Regions from separate parts of the Homo sapiens genome. Here all the other regions are linked to region 5. The links are contacts of gene promoters, found by promoter capture Hi-C in blood cells and fetal thymus (Javierre and others, 2016). All regions are on one chromosome and are shown on one strand. The core of a region is centred on a gene start or on the middle of the fragment in contact, and the rest is flanking DNA. Distances in the headings are between cores, read along the strand shown.

Evidence for each region. Contacts are between HindIII fragments. The CHiCAGO score rates a contact against its expected background, and 5 or more counts as called.
Region 1: a contact is called between a fragment that was not itself captured here and the fragment with the promoter of GPD2 in region 5, in 1 of 17 cell types (endothelial precursors). The highest score is 5.1, in endothelial precursors.
Region 2: a contact is called between a fragment that was not itself captured here and the fragment with the promoter of GPD2 in region 5, in 1 of 17 cell types (endothelial precursors). The highest score is 6.1, in endothelial precursors.
Region 3: a fragment that was not itself captured here is called in contact with the fragment with the promoter of GPD2 in region 5 in 2 of 17 cell types (endothelial precursors and monocytes); the score reaches 8.0 in endothelial precursors.
Region 4: a contact is called between a fragment that was not itself captured here and the fragment with the promoter of GPD2 in region 5, in 4 of 17 cell types (M1 macrophages, M0 macrophages, monocytes and 1 more). The highest score is 8.7, in M1 macrophages.

What each region holds. Positions count from the first base shown.
Region 1 is chr2:157,158,652-157,162,897 of GRCh38, reverse strand. No RefSeq gene overlaps it. Among named protein-coding and RNA genes, the nearest start is that of GALNT5, 97 kb to the left of the region's middle. The HindIII fragment of the contact is 1,758 bases long and covers 1,791-3,548 here.
Region 2 is chr2:157,058,717-157,062,887 of GRCh38, reverse strand. No RefSeq gene overlaps it. Among named protein-coding and RNA genes, the nearest start is that of GALNT5, 200 kb to the left of the region's middle. The HindIII fragment of the contact is 946 bases long and covers 887-1,832 here.
Region 3 is chr2:157,176,733-157,180,844 of GRCh38, reverse strand. No RefSeq gene overlaps it. Among named protein-coding and RNA genes, the nearest start is that of GALNT5, 79 kb to the left of the region's middle. The HindIII fragment of the contact is 1,522 bases long and covers 626-2,147 here.
Region 4 is chr2:155,687,282-155,691,541 of GRCh38, reverse strand. No RefSeq gene overlaps it. Among named protein-coding and RNA genes, the nearest start is that of LINC01876, 570 kb to the left of the region's middle. The HindIII fragment of the contact is 1,583 bases long and covers 1,626-3,208 here.
Region 5 is chr2:156,433,689-156,437,795 of GRCh38, reverse strand. It overlaps GPD2 (glycerol-3-phosphate dehydrogenase 2), which reads right to left and starts at 1,417. Exons shown (of 17, transcript NM_000408.5): 1 at 1,283-1,417. RefSeq lists silencers at 1,296-1,705, 2,146-2,315 and an enhancer at 1,856-1,905. The HindIII fragment of the contact is 5,965 bases long and covers 1-4,107 here.

The DNA.
Region 1 (4,246 bases), core at 1,420-3,919, 720 kb before region 5:
AATGTGCAAAGCAGTCATGTGGAGATGTGAAGGTGGTGCGGTCTGATACTGCAGATGTACTACCCAGCATCCTTGGTCCCCAGTGTGGTTGGCAAAATGAGGGGCCATAAAGATGTCTCTGTCCTCATCCTCAGAACCTGTGGATGTGTCACCTTATATGAAAAAAAGGGTCTTTGCAGCTGTGACTCGGGTTACAGACCTTTAGATAAGGAAATTATTTTAAATTATCCAGTTGGGCTCAATGAGTTTTTAAAAGTAGAAGAAGGAGGCAGAAGAGTGGGTCAGAGGTATGTGACCTGAGAAGGACTCACTTACTGTTGGTTTCAAGATGGTGGAAGGTGGCCATTAGCCAAAGTATATGCTTCCCTCTAGATCTTGAGAATGACCCTCAGTTTTCAGGCAGCAAGGAATATGAAATTTTCTCTATGCTGGCAACCTCTATTCTAGGAAAGGAGCATAGCTGGCCAATACCTGATGAGACCTATACCAGACTTCTAACTTGCAGAATTGTAGGATAATAAATTTGTGAGGTTTCAAGCTATAGTTTGTGGTCATTTGTTGCTGCAGCAATAGAAAAGATGCACCAAGTAACAAATAACATTAGGTAATCACAATGGAAGGACATAATGGGAAATAAATACAGCAGAGATTTCTATAGCTGGGGTCTGTCTTCAAGCAGCTTGTATTCTCCCCTGTTTTATTGGAGAAGGCCTATGTCATATGCACTTTCTATACATATCTATTGATTGTCTTCAAATTTAGGCATCAGGACATCCCTGGAGAGTGTTTTCCTTGGAGGGCGTGTGATCAACAACTACTTTTGAGTACTTCTCCTAATATCGTATCCTAAGATATTCCTTTGTATATTGGCATTTTGCCATTTGTAACAGAGTGACAATTATAGTTGAATTGTAAATATTTAAAGTTCTAAAAAACTCAAACTTGTTACCAGAACTGATTTTGTCATATAATAATGTAATTATAAAACAATATTAATAATAATGTAGTATTGGTGTTTTCCTCATACACCCACTCATTTTGAATTCTTATTCCATTGTTAATTCAACTGTTTTATGATAGTGATGTTTTATTTTACATATGCTTAGAAAAGTCTCAAAGCCAATAGGGCAAACCCATGCATTATTGGTATTATAGTAAATATTTACACATTTGCTAATAAATATTTAACACATACTTATAGGCCTTGAACTGACTGTAGATTTATTTGACATTTTCCTCTCTTGTTGTAATTGAAAGATTTAATCAATTTATTTAAATTCATCCATTGAAATTGTACTGAATACTTGCTGGATACTACACACTGCTATAAGAACAGAGAAGATAAAGTTAAACCTCATAGGTCTCGTAGCCAATCTAGGGAGTCATAGCAGTCAACAAGTGGGAGAAGATTCCTGCTGAGCCAGAGAACCAGTTGGGATAGGCACCATCTGTGAGTAAAGCAACCTTTTTTTCACATCTAATTGTATCCCCTAAGTTTTATGTGGCTAGAAATTACTTGAAAATGATCTTGAATTTTGATCTCATCACAGATTAAGACATTCATGTCAATTTATTTGAATTAGGATGAATAATTAAATTGTAGAGATTTGACTGAAACTACCTAGGAAAATATCTAGAGAAAATATCCCTTAGAGGGAAACTGATGGCTGGCCAGAAATTTCAGAGTCAGCAGCAGAGCCTGGGAATTAGAGGAGAAGAACATATGGCTCTTAGGAGACCTTGATGGTTCAAACACTTGCTGGGTAGTATAGTGGTTATGAGTACAAGCTTCAGAGCCAGACTGCCTGGGTTCAAATGGGGCCTCTGCCATTTAGTAGCTGAGTATCCTCTGGTAAGTTATTTCTATGTGAAAAATAGCACCTATATTAGAGAGTTTTCATAAAGATTAAAATGAGTCTGTAGAGTCACTCCTTGGTATCTGGTGGAGATTGTTCCCAGATACCAAAATATTCAGGACCTCCCTCCCTGGATACCAAAAATCCACAGGTGCTCAAGTTGTTTATATAAAATGGCGTAGTATTTGTATATAACCTAAATACATCCTCCTGTATACATTAAATAATCTCTAGATTACTTATAATACCTAATATAATGTAAATGCTGTGTAGTTATTATACTATATTGGTTTTTAAATTTGTATTGCCTTTTATTATCATACTTTTTTACTGTTTAAAATATTTTTTCAAGTATTTTCAACCTACTGTTGGCCAAACCCGTATATGCGGAATGGAGGCAGAGGGCCAACTGTATGTCTAAAGCACTTATACAAGTTTCAGACATGTATTTGGTTTTCAGTAAGTGTAGCTACTATTAATATCCTTAGGATGAAGAACTGCAGGGCTTTTCTAGAGGAGCTGAGCACATTTATATCTATTGTGCATTGCTATTTGCAGATGAGCAGGAAGCCCAGGAGACCCAGTAGGCAGTAAAAATATTATTTGGTGGCTTAGAGATGAGAGGCAGAGGGAAAGCAGGGCTCGTCCTGGAATGCAATGGCATTGATGGTGCAGGAAATAGCCCAAGGAATCTTGGTGGCATGATGGACTGCCCTTAGGCAGTAACGGGCAGTGATCCAAGCAGAACAGGAAGACCATGACATTGAGTGGAGTGACAAGGGAGACTGCTGCTGAAAAGACGTTAAACAAAAAGGCTGTCTGTCTGAGCAGGTTTACAATCAACCTATTGTAGGAGCACCTGTTGGAGAATCTTCCCCATAGACATTTCCAAGGACATTCTAGAGGAGAGTAAGAAGATCTGTAAAGAGAAGGCAGCAGGGGTTTTGTGTTGGGAAAGTAAGAGGTGCTTTCAAAGCAATAGGTTTGCTTCTTATAATGTGACCTTAAGTGTACCTACAATTTGGTGAGAATTGGGGTTCCTTCAGGTTGTATAAACTACATACTATATAATGTGATATCTAAAGGTCAACTGGGAGCTCAGGGAAGGAACACATTTGGCCTGAACATACTGAAAAGGTTGAAGTGACACATGGAAAAACAACTTTGGGAAAAGTTAAAATAAAATATACTAAGGCTGTGGGTAAGGAGGGAGCTTAATTCATTTTCTTTTTTGCATTCTACTTATGTTAATGCCTTAACTTATAATGGTGCCTCATATTTTGGTTGCTGTATAAGGAAATAATGTTCAAGTGGCCTTTGACGTCTCGTTGCTTACAAACTCAGATTATACTGGCAGAGTCTGTCAATTATTTACATTTATTATGCGTAGTTTATACACTTGATTCTTTCATAAGCAGTGAAAAATTGTATGCACACTAAAAACTCACATATTCATTCTTCAGAGAGCATATTTCCAAATGGTTGTAGCACATCAGAGAAAAATGTCACAAATCAACTATGAAGATTATATATGTATATATATGCTGGCCACTATAATGCAGCAAACTATGTACACAGTAATTAAAGGGAACATAAGGATACACATGTGTGTATGTGTGTATTGTTTTTATACGTGGCCCCTACTCCCATGATGTAAAACAGTGCCAAAGGAACTCGTAGTCCTAGTAAGCTTTCATATCTGTGCCTACTTATACAAGCTACATTTCTGAATTCATTAGTTAATAGTACAGATATATAATAAAATACAGTGTTGAAGTCAGATTCAATCAAATTCACTTCACATTTTGCTGCAATAATTGATCATAGTCCCTAAATCAGAAAGAACTCAGATGTCAGATACTTTAACCTTTCTCCCAATGCACAAAACCTTTCAACAGCATTTCTGAGAGACTACATCTAGTATTTGATTGCCACTTCCATGCCATTGATGTTTTGATACCTTTCTCTAGTTTCTGGTTTGCTTCCAGTCCCTTAAATAACATGTACCAGATTGATGTACTTTCTCATCTCTTTTCACTCCTTTTCCCTTAATGTCTTTCCTGCTCTTTCTTCTTTGCCCTTCTTTTGTATAGTTTTCAAATAACAACTATAAATATGACTTTCATCCGTAATTTTATCCTGAATTCTGACGTTCAGTCACAAATTTTCATTATGTAGTCCCATTAGAATTATAACTGAATATGTCTGAGAGTTTGGGTTCTCTATTTTGTTTGATGTCACTACACTACTCTGGGTTTAAAACTCCAGGCATTTCTGCCCTTCTTCTCCCTCATTCTGTATTCCAATTTAGTAGAGAGGGAAAAATGAACTGGAAACTCATAGAACTTAGTATTGGTTTTAGCCTCATAGTTAACTGCTTCCAGAACCAT
Region 2 (4,171 bases), core at 110-2,609, 630 kb before region 5:
AAGTTATCTTAATGTGAATTTTTACAATCCTAAGAAAAACAGCTAAGAGTGGTTATTTATACTTTCATATGGAAGGTGTTTTTTTTCTAATTCTAAGAAACGTCCATGGTAGCTTGATGGAGACAGCACTGAATCTATAAATTACTTTGGGCAGTATGGCCATTTTCACAATATTGATTTTTCCTATCCATGAGCATGGAATGTTTTCCCATTTGTTTGTGTCCTCTCTTATTTCCTTGAGCAGTGGTTTGTAGTTCTCCTTGAAGAGGTCCTTCACATCCCTTGTAAGTTGGATTCCTAGGTATTTTATTCTCTTTGTGGCACTTGTGAATGGGAGTTTACTCATGATTTGGCTGTCTGTTTCTCTATTATTGGTGTATAGGAATGCTTGTGATTTTTGCACATTGATTTTGTATCCTGAGACTTTGCTGAAGTTGCTTATCAGCTTAAGGAGATTTTGAGCTGAGAAGATGGGGTTTTCTAAATATATAATCATGTCATCTGCAAACAGAGACAATTTGACTTCCTATTTGAATACACTTTATTTCTTTCTCTTGCCTGATTTCCGTGGCCAGAACTTCCAATACTATGTTGAATAGGAGTGGTGAGAGAGGGCATCCTTGTCTTGTGCCAGTTTTCAGATGGAATGCTTGCAGCTTTTGCCCATTCAGTATGATATTGGCTGTGGGTTTGTCATAAATAGCTCTTATTATTTTTAGATTCGTTCCATCAGTACCTAGTTTATTGAGAGTTTTTAGCACAAAGGGGTGTTGAACTTTATTGGAGGCCTTTCCTGCATCGATTGAGATAATCATGTGGTTTTTGTCAAGGCAACTAAACAGGTGTTTGGGCCACAAGCCTTGCACTCTAGGGAATCCCCAAAGCTTGAGTTGACTTGCTTTTATTTGCATTTTCCTGTGAAGTGGATGCCTTTCTTTGGGGAGCAAATGATTCTGTGATGCCCAGATAGAAAGTTTGAAATGTGTCATAAGGATGCCTTCTTATTATGGCAGGATAAGGAGATAATGTTTACAGGCTTATGTGTCTGGGTATGAACAAGGTTAGAAGAGAAACAGAACTTTCCTATTATTTTGATGATATGACCAACATGGCTTATTTTCTCCCTTACCTAGTTTGTGCTATATAAAACCTTAATTCAATGTATTTCATTAAATTCATCTTTAAATAAAAATGATTAGTATGTTATTTCTCTGATATCTTTGGGCTAATCATATTAATGCCTTTGGTTTAAGAAGTGAAACATTTGAATTACAGTTGCTGGTGGATGGCACCAGCAACCATGTGGTTTTATAATGCAGAATTATGTAATGATAAAACATAGTCTGTTCAAAAGAGTACAAAGTTAAAAAGAAACTTTTATTGAAGGCTTTTAAATTGTATTACATGCATCTCCATTTAGCAGATTAAAAATGAAGGTTTAAAAAAGGTATGCAATTGCTCATTATTGAAAATAAAATGATATTATCAAAGGGGAAAAATAGACGTCTCTCTTACCTTCTGATGCTGTTGTCTTTGTAGTCTTGCAATAATAGGACCACTTGAATCATTGATAACTCAGAATATATGCATAATTAGACTTGAAATCATGTGGATTCTGTTAGAATTGCTTTCCAAATGTGGCATCTCCTCCTCTCCACCTTTACTATGCTCAATTATCATCAACATTAGCCTGAATGATGGCAAGAATCTTCTCACTTGTCTCTCTTTCTCTTCCAGGCAGTCTTGGTGACAATGTTACTTTCTCAAAAATAAGAAAACAAAGCAAAGCAAACTATGCCCATCATTGTCATTCTTCTCCTCAGTGACAAGCTTGTTGCATATGCACTTCTCTGTCTTTATCACATGCCATTCCCCTCGCATTGCCCCCATAAATCTTATCCTCCCCACCCCCACATTCTCACCCCTGTGTAAACACAGTGCTCCCTTTCAGAACTCCCCACACAATTGGTTCCTTCTGCCTGGAATGTCCTGTCAAGTCTCCCTCTCTATCTCAAATTTCATCATTTTGGTCCTAGTTTGAATATCAAGACTGTCCCTCGGTGGTCATTTCCACTCCTGGCAGAGGTAGCCACTCTTTCTCTTTAGATTTTAGGGTTACTTTTCCACATCTCTAAAAAAAACACCTGTCACATTTTGTTTTAATTCTATATTTAATTGTCTACTTCTCTGGCAGACTATTTTTTTGGGGTGAGGGGAATGGAGTCTTGCTCTGTCCCCCAGGCTGGAGTGCAGTGGCGTGATTTCTGCTTACTGCAACCTCCGGCTCCCTGGTTCAAGCGATTCTCATGTCTGGTAGACTCTTTAACAGACGCTTTCAAACTTTTTTAATGCAGCTATCATTAAAATGCATTTTTACATTGTGATCTGGAACACACACACACGTGCTCACATTTACACAGATACAGACTGAAACACAGCTCCGAGAAATAATATATTCCCTTATTATGAGTGGCATGCTTTAATATTTTCTACTCTGATCTGTTTTTGAAAAAAAAAATGGTGGTCACAACCTATTGTATTGATTTCACAGCTCAGTAATGGGCCACTACTATGGGACTGAAACCTCTCTCCTAGATGACAAACAATGGCCTCATTTTTACATCCCCAGTGCCTAGGAGTGGAAGGTACTCAATGTTTGTTAAATAGATGATTGTGCAAAGATAATATTGAAAATGTTTTTTAAACTTTTTTTTCCTCAGCCACAATACATATTACAATATTTCTTCTCCATCTTGAGTTTAACTTTGAGCTATCTCCCTGGGATTTTTTCGACTGCTTAGCAAGAGAGAAAAGAATAAAGTGTATATAGGTCATGTTTGCCGCCTGGAGGCTCTGTTAAAGACAAATCTGATGAGCAGAATGGGTCAAAGTTGTGATCTAAATAACTTTTAAACTTATTTAGTCACTTCATTGGTTATCACCCGCTTCCACGTGCAGCAAAATCAGAAATTGTGAGTATAAGCATTTTCTGTACAAATCATTTTAATTAGTTGATTTTGAACCTTAAGATGGCCCTATTAGAACAAAAATATTTTTTTAAATAAGAAAAAAAATCTTTCTAGCGAGTAGTTAATGCTTATTCTTAGTCCACCTACGTTTTTACATTTAGTTCGTTTCCTGTTTTTAGTTTTTGACTTTCAGTGTTTGACAGACTATAAGTTTTGTATTATAAATTTTATGGGCACAATCCAGACTCTGGGTTCTTAACAGACATTAATAATAACACTAGAAACATTTTTCTTGGTCCAATGGCAACCTTGCCAGTTTGTAACCAGGAATAAATAGAACACTCAGTTCATTCAGTCCATGCGCTCATTATGAAGCATACAGAGAATAAATCAGCCTTTTTCTTGGTGCTGATAGCTGAGTGGAAGTGGAAAGCTTGTGAAAAATCAGTTGTAACTAATTTATGGATTTAACTGTCAATTTATTGTTTTTTTATGATTATTTCTGTAGCATTATCTTTAGATAATAATAAAATGAAATGTGTGACTTTTTGAATTTTAGGTGACAATAAAATTAAGTTTATTAATATCACTTGTTAACATTTAGATTCAGAGATTCTCATGATTCAAGACACTCCCTCAATATCACACCTTTTGTAGGAGAAAGGGGAAATGAAACTGGATACAAAGCTGGTTCAAAATGATCAAAATTAACTATATGGCCTTAGTGAAATCTCTGATATTAATTCTACGGTTGTGGTTTTAAAATAATTTTTCTTCCTTTTTCTATTTTTTCCCCAGAATGCTCTCTCCTCAGTATACCAAAAACAAACAAACAAGCATTATTTGGAGTCCCATTTTTTAAAAAAGCAATATGAGTCGAGCTTTAGTAAGAGGGCTAAAAGGAGGCCCCTACCGATTTGGCCATACAAAAGGCCTGAATTCCTGGGGTTTCACCCAACACAGCCGTCAAATCACAATTCCAGAACACAGCAAGGTCAGGGAGTGTTGCAGAAAACTTCAGCAGTTCTTTCCAGAAACACATATTCAGGTCTTCTTCCTCCAGAGCTCCTGATTCTTTGAGTTTGGTGTGGCATTCAGGCATATGGATTTGCAATAGCTCCCAGGAGACTCTGGACCATCCCGTCTCTGGCTTCCTAGGACTGCTGGTCCTAAAAGGTTTCTTTAAGTACAGTCCTTGGGCC
Region 3 (4,112 bases), core at 137-2,636, 740 kb before region 5:
TTTCTATGGTGATGGTTAAAAAGGCAGACATCTGGGTTAAACTCAGTGGTGGTGCCAAGGGCAGTAGCCAACCCAGTCTCCATCAGCTCCCTTCATTCCCAAATAAAAATCTTACTTTTAATATGGCCAATGTAATCACTTTTATATAAAGTGTGAGTAAAAGTTTAGGAAACTTTTATATTGATATTGATCTGTAACATACACACTAAGTTAAAAAGAGTGTGCTTTCTTTACAAACATAGCCTCATGGCAAACCTCCCAGCTTCGTCTTCCAACCAGATGGCCTCCCCTAAGCCCTACCCTACATAGAATTCTCAAGATGAAGCTGGCCCTCCTCAGATCCAAGTCAGAGTATCTATGGTAGGACCAGGAATCAGCTTTTTCCACAAGCTGTGAGGTGAGTCTAGGTAACACTAAGGTCTTAGTATATACAACCTCAGAGCTTCCTATTCTTACATGGATTCTTTACTACTTGTTCTAATTCAAGGCTCTTACAATACTCACTGACTTTGCAGTGGTAGCTGTAAATCTCAGAGTTTTATGATTGCCTGAAGTTGGATGAAAGTTGATTTCATTATCCCTTTTGTGAGACTGAGTGAATGAAGAAGAAATTACACCACAAGCTTGGACAGGGCAATAACAGTGAAACTGCATGTTACTTTGAATGCAGACTTCTTGTTCTGCAAAAACTACAGAACTATTCCTGGAAAAACAAGGCAATAGCTTTTATTTATTTATTTATTTATTTAATCCTGAGATACATATAGGTAGGGCCAACAGGCATATACAGTGCTTTGATGCATATGAGAGAAATAGCTTTCCCCAAGGGGACAGATTTGAAAAAAGTGCCCCCCACTGACAATGCCAATTAGAAAAAGGTGTCTGCATCTTAAGTTGACTCCAGGATGGCTGAGAGAAGTCTGGCCTTCCAGCTACCCTGTTGTCTTCTTGGCTGAAGTCTTACGTGGAGTGCAACAGCTCAACTGCACAATTATATGAGGTAGAATTCCTGATACTGGGAGTCAAAACCTGGTCTCTGGTGATGGGGCAAGAATGAAAGAGAAAAGTGAGCCTTTAAGGGGATATCAGCGGTTTGTGGGGTCCAAAGATGAGCCCTTATCTTTGCTATACAAGAAACATTTTTGTTTTAAAAAGTGCTTTTTGGTAAAATGTGATAAATCTCCACTTGTTTGAATGACAGAGAGTTGTAATTAATACTCTTACTTTTGAGAAAACCATAAAGTCATTTATACAGTACTGATGGTACTGAGGGGAGGGATGGACACGCTCTTATAGTGGAAACAATGAATCTCTTGGCAGCTGGACAAGAGGTTAGAGAGAAAATACTTACTTTTGAGTGGAGAGCTCCTATGGCTACCTACAGATCTCCATCTCTGCTACATACAGGCTACGTGATTCAGGGCAAGTCATGTCACCAATTTAAAATGCACATCTACTTCTTGGGAGTTGTGAAATGCTTTAACTAGTGCTTTATAAATTGAAGAGTGTCAATGGTAGTGATTATTTTGGAAGAATATATTTTATCATAGTAGGGACTTTGAAAATTTTTAATGCCTTTGAAAGCCCATGTGTACATTACACATTTCAAAGAAGCAAATGTAGACCTTTAAGGTCTGAATGTTTGTCTTTTTCTGCATTGACTGCCTTCCTGAGGAACTAATTCAAAAGTATTTGTGCAATACTGTCACAATATAGTAAATGTGGTTAAATGAGGGAAATTGCTTTTTCCCAAGGGGTCAGATTCAAAACAAGTGCCCCCTGCTGGCAACACCAATTAGAAAAAGGTGTCTGCATCTTAAGTTGACTCAAGGATGGCTCAGAGGAGCCTGGCCTTTTAGCTATTCTGGAAGAGGTTATTACAAAGAATAGATATTAAGTTGGTGCAAAAGTGATTGCAGTTTTTGCCATTGAAAATCATGTCAAAAACCACAATTACTTTTGCACAAACCTAATAATTCAACCCTCTGGCAAATTAACATCAAAGATTATGGGAAGAGTAAGCGTTGTTTTTGTTGTTTATTTGTTTGTTTGTTTTTGCTAGATATGATTTTTTTTTTTTTTGGACGGAGTCTTGCTCTGTCACACAGGCTGGAGTGCAGTGGCGCGATCTCGGCTCACTGCAAGCTTCACCTCCTCCCGGGTTCAGTCCATTCTCCTGCCTCAGCCTCCCAAGTAGCTGGGACTACAGGTGCACACCACCATGCCCAGCTAATTTTTGTATTTTTAGTAGAGATGGGGTTTCATCATGTTGGCCAGAATGGTCTCGATCTCTTGACCTCGTGATCCGCCCTCCTCAGCCTCCCAAAGTGCTGGGATTACAGGCGTGAGCCACCGCGTCCGGCTCAGATATGACTCTTAATGGGTCAAAAGGGAGTACGTAAAGAAAAAAAAGAAAAAAATTCAAGAATTTTTTGAATAGGGCATCTGACTGGATGGAATTTTTGTGATTCTCAAAGTTTAGAGTTCATTGGTATATGTTAGAATCATCTGCAGTCTTGTTTGAACTGTCATTCTTGAGCTTTATACCAGAGGTTCTGATTTCTTAGATCAGAGATCTGCCCAGAAATTTTACTTTTAATAAGCACCTGATATAGTCAAACTCCTGGTGAAGGGATCTTCCCACATTAGCCCTTCGAGTAGCTAGGACTATAGGCATGCACCACAATGTCTGGCTAATCTTTTTATTTTTATTAGAGACAGGATCTCACTATGTTGCCCAGGCTGGTCTTGAACTCATGGCCTAAAGTGATACTCCGACCTTGGCCTTCGAAACTGCTGGGATTATAGGCGTGAGTCACTGCACCTGGCCCAAAGCATTTCTTTTAATGACTCAGAGTTGTAGACAGGAAAACATCTTCATGAAATTTGCTCTAGATTTTTTTCATATGCTTTCAAATATGGAAAAAAAAATCTTTGATGTTTGAGTAGCCATTCAATATCTTTGATGCTATAGCTAATTGTTTGCAAGTGATCCTGTAATGCCAAGAACTATTTGAGGCTTTTGAAAATATATACAAAAAGTAGAAATGTGTTATACTTACATGGAAACACACTGACGGTTTACCTAAAGCAAAAAGAACAATTTAGCTTTGAGGTTTCTTCTTACACAGCTTCAACTACTGTGTTATAATCTGGGCTGTAATTAAAATCACCTGAAAACTTTAGTCAACTAATTATCTCTAAGTTCCAGTCTAAACCAACGAAAAATGAACTTCTGGGGGTGCAGATGAAGTAGAGATATTCTTTAAAAGTTGTGCAGATAATTCTGTTCTACCAGGGCTGAGAATCATGATTAAACTAAAAGATAATAATTAATACAATTTCTGGTTTGATTTTTTTTCTTTGGCATGTGATTAAGAAAATTTATCTGGTTTCTGTTCTCAAATACTTTTGGGAGACCGAAAGTATTAATTGCATTTGGAAAATATTTTAAAAGGTGATTTCTCACCTCATGGAACTTACTAATTGACAGAAATAAATATTTTTGCCTCCAAGGACAAGAAGATACAGCCACAATGCTGGCATATTGATTTAAATTGTGGGAAATATTCCTTCGCTGGCTAAGGTTGAAATTAGTAGGATAATTTTGCAGAGGCTGTTTAGGCTCTCTTTAGATACTATGGGCTATATCTGACCACAAGGAAAATAGTAGTAGCTGGGCCATAGCCATGGGATCTGAGTGCTTTGGTTTCCTATAGACAGAGTTAATAGAATGAACCAATATATTGAATAATTTTAAATTCTACAAGTATTTATTAATCATATAGTATATGAACACTACAATCTATCATTTAGAAAGATTTTGACTATAAGTAACTGTATTAGTCTGTTTTCATGCTGCAGATAAAGACATATCCAAAACTCGGTAATTTTTACAGGAAAAATGTTTAATGGACTTACAGTTCCACATGGCTGGGGAGACATCACAATCATGGTGGAAGGCAAGGAGGAGCAAGTCACATCTTACATGGATGGCAGCAGGCAAAGAAAGAGAATGAGAGCCAAGCAAAATGGATTTTCCCTTATCTAACCATCAGATCTCAAGAGACTGATTCATCTACCATGAGAACAGTATAGGGGAAACCACCACC
Region 4 (4,260 bases), core at 1,168-3,667, 750 kb after region 5:
CACAGGATATTATTACATTCTAACAACTACACAAAATTTAAGCTAGACAGTCAGGGGTGGTGTGTGTCAGTATTGACAAGATAAGAAAAGATCAAATCAAAGTCCTTAATTGTCATTGTAAAGTGATTGAACTTTGTTATTCGTACAGTAAAAATTGGTATATTTTTGCTTTTTTGAGGCTAGAGTGCATCGGTACAAAAAATAAAAGTATACAGAAAGTAGAAATTAACAATTCCATTTTAATGCCACCATTAAAGTATGAAGAACAGAGGTGACTTGATCATCTCTGCATTTAGAAAGATTCTTCTGATCTTGGGAATAGATAGAAGGGAACCAAGTCATGCAGAAAGAACATCAATTTGGAAGATGTTGCTATAATCCAAACAACAAGAAATAGTAAGACCCTGAAAGAACAGAGGAAAGTGTGCATATCTGGAGATATTTAAAATGTACAATTGACAATAGTTGGTAAGTATTTGAATAAGGAAGTTAAGAGAATGGGAACACGCAGACATGACTAGCAAAACTAGGAAAACGAAAGCAGAGTTCATTGCTCTGATGCAAAACACAACTGTTCTAGAAATGAGGAACCAATACCAACCATCCATTTATATACTCATATTGCATGTTTATTTGGATGGATCAGACTTATTTATAGTGGCTAGGTTATAATTTGATAATTTTTCCAGTAATTGGCTTATAAACAACAAAACCTAAAGTGGTATAAACTACACACATTTTTAATTGGAGGTACAAGGAGTTATATATAAAAGCTCTTAATTTTTCTGTATATGAGTATGATATTCCTTTGAAGTTAAGAAGATGTATACTAAGTTTTGGGTATTGATACTGAACACCCCTAGGTTTTCAATAATCACTAGCCCTCCTACTCCGGTCTATTATTTTTGGACAGAAGAGAGTTAATGAGGCAATGCAATAATAAAGAAAAGAACATGAAGAGCAAAAAGCTATGTGACATTAAGATCTATTGGGGCACTGCTGAAATTGTTGAGTTTGATTTAAACCTTCAACCTAATTTAAGAAGGAGGCATTCTTCATCATTCTAACCTCAAATCCTGAATATAATTAAAGCTTTATAGGTTAAAGCTTTGATGGAATAATTTCCAGGTTTCTCTTTTCTAGTTCTGCATTTTGAAAAATCTTAATTATTATTCTATTTAGAACTTCAATCACTTAAATTTACAACTTGAGTGACTTTAGTTAAACCAAAAAAGCCTGATGTATTCTGTATCCAAATTTTCTGTTCTATTTTTCTTTAATCTTTTATTACGAACATGTCTAACAACTAAGGTCTTAAATATTCAGCTCCTCTTTGCTCTATGTTGAAAATAAACAGGGAACGCATTAGAGTTGTAGTTATTTTAGAGAGAGGATAAGATCCCTAATGAATTCTGGAAGCTAGGGAAGTTGATTTGTGAGGGATGTGGATATGCGTGAGAGATGTACAGATATAATTCAGTGAGGAAATTTGAATCACGCCTCAAGGCACAGGATGCCTGTGAACCAATCACTACATAAAGACTTTTTTGTTGTCCCATGCTTTGGCCTCTTGGTGAGGTTATTCTTTTGGCAAATGATCTATCTTAATATTACACAAGGAAGCTTTGTGTGAACAGTGCATAATCAGAGTTCTCTTGTCCGACAATAATGTAAGGAAAAAAATGTGTGCAATATCAAACACTACAGAACAGAATAAAAATAGTATTCCTTTGTTACATAAATGTAAAAGTAATAGTGAAAAGCAACGACTTAGAAAGAACACTGAAATTATGAAAACTTGGTGTCTTTGGAAGATTCTTTGTAGGATTTAAACAGGAATTTGGTGCTTTGGAGTATATATTCACATCACCAATGAGAACATTCATAGTATGTGCTAATAAGTATTGTTAACATGTACTAAATGTTTTATATGTGCCATTATTATACTAAGTAACTTTATATTATTTCACATACTTCTAACACCAAATAAAGAGATTGGTATAGTTAACTATTCACGAATCCCAGATAGGGGAATTGAGCCTACAGTTGTAGATCAGAATTTCAACTAAAGTCCATTGATTTTAGATGTGGTCCTTCCAGTCACCATCCAAGATTTCTTCTAAGAGTAATGTGTACTGTGGCTCCTTAGGAACTGCTTAATGCTATGTGATAAGATGCTTTGTTTAGTATTTCATTAAATTAGATCTATGATACTTATATAAGCATTGTATGCTGAAGAAAATCTTGAAACTGTGTTTACCTGTCTTTCATATTTTCAACATTTCAAAATTGTATTTGAATCATAGATCATTATTTTATAGTTCATGGTTCTCTAGGAGATAAATAGAGGTGCTTTAGGGGACCAGTGGCCTTCTAAAATTACATCTTAAACATAGTGTACTTGCAATTTGTTGTATTTTTCTGGAAACTGATAATATTTTATAGCTGCATGTGATCCAAAAAAAGTTTAAGGAACTTTAGTTGGAAGTTTTGAAAATAAATGAAATCTAAAATAACACTTTTACCAAAAAAACTAAAAATCAATATAATCCCCAAAATTTAATAGGAATAATGACAAGGTCATAAATGTATAAAGGCTTAGAAATAATGTCACCAGGAAACAGTGATTTTAAAAATTATTCCTCAGAGATTAGAGTATTAGAGTTATGTGATGTCGACTCACTAAGCAATAGCAAGTCCTATTAAAATTCTGTATTTTGAATTTGTTTATGTCAAATATGACTATATCAAATCCACTTAATATGAATCTATCAAATCTGTTTTAAAATTTGGTATGTAGTGCTTTGGATTACTGTTTTTATTTGGTTTGACTATTATTTTAATTTAAACACAAACTTTATTTGGTAAGTGTGTATGTGTCTTTATGAAAGACTGCCAGTCTATTCCAAAGTGCATAAATTTACATTTCTACCAGAAATGTATGAAAGTTCCAGTTACTATATATTTTGATCAGCAATTGATATTTTCAGTCCTAATTTTAGCTCTTCTAGTGATTTTATAGTAGAATCTCACTGCAGTTTTAATGTGAATTTTCCTGATTGCTAATGACGTTGAACACTGTTTCTTGTATTCATCATTCATTTGTGTACCATCCTTTGTGAAAAATAAAATCATTTTCCCAATTTTAATTGAGTTGTCTTCTTGTAACTGATATGTAAACATGCTTTTTATATTCTGAATATAAGCTTTTCATCAGTTTATGCATTGTGAATATTTTTTCCCAGTTTTTGGCTTCCCTTTCCATTTATTTAAGAGCTGAAAGATTCTTAGATAAATTTTGATAAAGTAAAATGTATCAATATTTTCCTTTTATGGACTCAGCTTTTTGTGGCTTGCCTAGTAAATCATTGCGTAGTCCAAGTGTGCAAAGATTTCCTACTGTGTTCTCTTCTAGAAATTTTATATTTATAATTTTAATTTTTAGGTCTATGTTCTATTTCATGCTAAATTTTGTTTGTTGTGTGAATTAAGAATTGAAGTTCATATGCATATCCAGCTGTTCTAAGGCTATTTGTTGAAAAAACTACTTTTTCTCCATGGAATTGCCTACGTTTTTGTCAAAAGTGTCATAATTGTGGTTTTTTTCTAGACTCTAATTTGTTCCATTGACACATATGTGTGTCTTAACAAAAAACACACTGTTTTGATTACTGTAGCTTTATAGTATAAGTGCTCCAACATTGTTATCTTTCAAAATTGCTTTTGGCTTTTCTAGGTTATTTGCATTTCTATTTAATTTTAGATTCAACTTAATAAATACTACAAAAAAGTCTTCTGGTATTTTAGTTTGGATTGCATTAGATCTAGACATCAATTTAAGGAAAAAAATGATGTTTTAATATTGAGTCACCCAGTTCATGAACCTGATACACTTTTCCATTTATTTAAGTCTTTAATTTCTCTCAACCTGAAAATGTTTAAGAGACAAATAAAAGTGGGTTGTTTCTTCAAACTCTTCATTCCAGTAGAGAGAGTTATTTTTAGTTTACTTCAATATTTGTTTATCCCTGTCTCCAAACTTGGAGGATCTCAAAGAGTCTACCTAAGCTGAAAAAGAGAAGGAGGTCTATTTTGGGGAAGGAGAAATTGGAATCTTCAAAATTACAAAACTGTACTATAAACTTCCACATGTTGCTTCCCCCTACCAGCTCAGCAAGTTGGAACTTTACTCTGAGAGGGTATAGCCAAGATCTTTGCCTCCAGTACCCAGTCAAGGGCTAGGGTTTCTCCCAGGCGTGC
Region 5 (4,107 bases), core at 168-2,667:
CCAAGCCATTGCATCTTTGAATGAATCACAAGGGAGAAAGAAGGAAGCAGAGCTCTAATGCTGTTTAGAATTTCTTTATAAAATAAAGTGACTCTATAAGCTATGAGAATGGACAGTTGCAATGAATCCATTGTTGGTTCTCAAACCCAAAACCCCATATTTACCCATTTATTCATTAAAATATTGCTGTATTATTTCACGAGTTGATTTGTAAAAGTCAAGGGAGTGTTGTAATTTGACATAACGCCCCTGTGAGAAACAGAGGGGGGTTTCAACATCCACATCACAAGGTTCCCCAGACTGCACACGGTCTCCATTGGGCAATGGCATCCAGATGTCATGTGGTAGCCAGCAAGAACTGTAGGACTGGGACTAGAGTGGTCAGTAGCTACGAAGAAGTGCCTGGGCCCAGTGTGACAGCTGCCAGCACCGTCCACACGCCAAAAAGAAACTTCACATCTCTTTAAACTTGGAACACATGCAAAATACTAACAGTTTTGTTTTAGCAATAAAGACTCCCTGTCACTTACTAACTTCCTTCCCTCACCTATTTATACAAGTATAAGTTGACTAGCTGCTATTTCTATAGCTGCCTCCTATGATATTTATAATGTGTTGTGTGTGATTTGGGTTGCCCATGTCACTAACACTTTGCAAGAATTTGTGTTTGTAAATTACTCTGGAACTCTTCTGGGAGTGAATATTCCACTGCACAAGGTGGAAGCCAGACTAGAGACCATCTGCTAAGAGCAGCACTTCATTCACCCAGCTACACCTTCCTGCCAAAGCACTCTTTGCAAATCTATTTTTGCTGGTAGAAGTTACTACATAGGGAGTGGAGGCTGTTTTAAGTTATCAGTGTGCACCTTCCATTTCCTCCTAGGACGGTCACACGCCAGCAGCTGAGTTTCTCAAAGAAGCCTCAGCCCTCCTCCAGACTCGTTCTCACTCTTGCTTCGGAAGGGAGCAACAATCCTTATCAGACTAGCCGCATCTACAAGCTAAAAGTTTGCATGAACTTTCAATGGGGTACCAACCCTCGCCCCAAAAGTCCTGCCACTTTACTATTTTACAAATGCCGCCTCCAAAACATAAACAACGAAACCCTAGAGAAGAGCGAATCCATCTTCTGCTGGTGGGAAGAAATTCTAAATCTTTCCCGTTTCCCGCCACCACCTACCGCCAAGACTGGAGTCCCAGAACACTCGCCCGGGTCAGAAAGGGACCACTCCCCCCCTAGAATACTAGAGGCGGGGGAAGGGGTCTCCCAGGAAGCACACACCTGAGATAGATCCTCACGCGCGAGGGGCCAGCGGGCAGGAGCACCCAGTTCCTCCAGCCAGGGTGGAGTCGGCCTCCCCCCAGAATCAGAGCCTCGGCCCGGGTGCTCCCAGCGAGGCGCGCGGGGCTGTCACTCGAGGCGGGCTGGGCGGGTGTAACTCGAGCGCCGGGCGGGCCGCGCCCCCGCCTTCCCTCTTCCCGACTTCCTCCTCCCGCTCCCGCGCCTGCTCCCTCCCGGAGGCCTGACCAGGGCGGCGAGGCCGCCACCTCCTGCCCGGATACCTCGGGCCCAGGCTCCTCCGGCCCAGCGGGGAAACGCGGAAGTGGGGGCGGGAACCGGGGCCGGGGTTGGCGGGGGTGTGGGAGGGAAAAGCCAACAGCGGGCGGCGAGCGAGGTGGTCTCCGTGGCCCAATGAACGTGACTAGACGGGGACGCGGGTCCTGCCGCCGGGTGGGGTCGCGCAGCGCCACACGCAAGGGCCCTCGCCCCTGGCTGCAGTTCCTGCTTTGTGCCTCGGCGATGCCGGACTCCAGACCTCCGCCCCGCCTTGCCAGCGGGCTGGCGGACTGGAAAGCCTGAGCTAGGCCAGGCTGGGGAAGACGGTGGCGGTGTCCGATTTCCTGTGCCCTCGCCCATGCGGGCCGCCCTGGCCATCTGCCTGCGGGAGAGGAGACACTCGTCCGCCGGCACGCTGGCGGGGCTGGCTTACCTGACGACTTCTCGTTGTCCGCCCTGGGATCTGGCTTCTCCTACTCTGTACCTCCCGGCCGGCAGGCTTCCCTAGGCCTACAGACGTGTCCAGGAGGCGGGCGACCCTGCGACCCCGCCGTCAGAGCCCAGAACCCTCGCCCGGCTCCCCCGGCGGGCTCTGGAGGCGCGCCAGGCCTCCTGGCTCCCCGCCTGAATGTCAGCGCAGGGACCCGCAGGGAAGACCAAGCCCAAGCTCCAGGGGGTGGAATGCTGAGCACAGGTTCCCCAGACCCAGCCTCATACAGGTGGGGGGAGGCGGAGAGCCCCGGCAGCTGAACAGCAGGCTTCCCACTTGCAACCCCCCGCCACCCAAAAAAAAAAAACGACCCTGCCCACTGAGCATGCCCAGCTTACTTGTTGGAACTCCTAGGGCTAGACAAGCCCAAGGGGACCTAAGGAAGGCAAAGTTGGGGCTCAAATGGACCCCACTTCTTTAACAGCTTTGCTCCGAAGACCTCTGGGTGCTGTACTAATAACCTTTCTATCGTGGTATTGGAAAATATCCAGGAGATGGACGGAAATGCCTTTCCAAAAGAAGGAAGAAAATTAGTGTGAACCAAAAAGCAGTGGTATTTTTTTAAATAAAGTATTAAGTCACTCATTTAATGTCCTTAAATACCGCAGAATTCCTGTAGTTGACCCAGAGGAATGCATATATTTATTAAATCCCAAACTCAGTAACTTCAGGGAACCATCCATAGTCCACAGAGGAGCAATGATTCTCACCCTTGGACACATTAAAATTGGGGGGAGGGGGCAGGGAGGGGTGGAATGCCAGATTTCCATCCCCAAGTCCAATGAGTCAGTCTGGACGTGGGATCTGCAAGTCCTTGTATTTTAAAACTGGCTCTAAAAGTGTAGTCACTGGAGCCCGCAGCATCAGCATCACCTGAGAACTTGACAGAAACTGTACTCCAGTGACCTGATTCATAGACTCTGGGGCTGGGGCTGAGCTACCCAGATTTAACAAGCCCTTTGGGTAGTTCTGATGCACATTAAAGTTTGAGAACCACGGTTTAAAAGCTCCCCCAGTTGAATCATGAGCAACCAGAAAAAGGAAATTGTAGTTGAGAAAAGAAAAATAGTTCAGAGCATTTGAGCAATGTGAGGTATGCAAAATTTATCAGGCCCAGAGAGACCTTGAATATGGGACATAAGTTGCACCCCCCACACTCATGCTCAGAGGCGATTGTTTAAAGGCATTTTGTTCATGACTGACTACCCAACCATATCTTCATGTTCCTGGAATTTGTGATACGAAGAACAATCTATAGACAATTAATAGTTTGTTTTTTTATGTAAATTATTGGTAAACAATTTAGAAACTGCCTCTTCTTTTCCTTTAAAAACTTCCTTGTGGCCGGGCAGGCGCAGTGGGTCACGCCTGTAATCTCAGCACTTTGGGAGGCTGAGGTGGGCAGATCACGAGGTCAAGAGTTCAAGACCAGCCTAACCAACATGGTGAAACCCTATCTCTACTAAAAATACAAAAATTAGCCGGGCATGGTGGCAAACACCTGTAATCCCAGCTACTCAGGAAGCTGAGGCAGGAGAATCACTTGAACCTGGGAGGCAGAGGTTACAGTGAGCTGAGATGGCACCACTGAACTCCACCCTGGGCAACAGAGTGAGACTCCATCTCAAAAAATAAATAAATAAAAACTTGTGACTGGGCAACATCATGAGACTGGTTATATTAAGTATGCCTCAGTTCTTTTTTCTTTAGTTTGACAAATCAAACCAATATTTTTATCATTTTTTTCAAACCCTCATCATTTATCTAGAAATGCAACATGTTACCCAGAAAAGGAATAATCTGGTTGAGTTGGGTGCCAGTCCTGGATTTCCTTCTCACTGATTATCCCAGATCAGTTCAGTGCTTGGGAAATGGGACCATCAGTTACTCACTTTTGTACTCTAGTGCCTAGCATAGTGCCTGAATATAACTGATGTTTAAATGTTTCTTGATTTGAAATGAATGCTTAGGTGAGCGATCTGGTCCAATCCATACTATGTCAGCTGATTATTTTCCCCACTAGTCCTAGTCACACTGCTAGCTAGTGTAACCGCCCAAG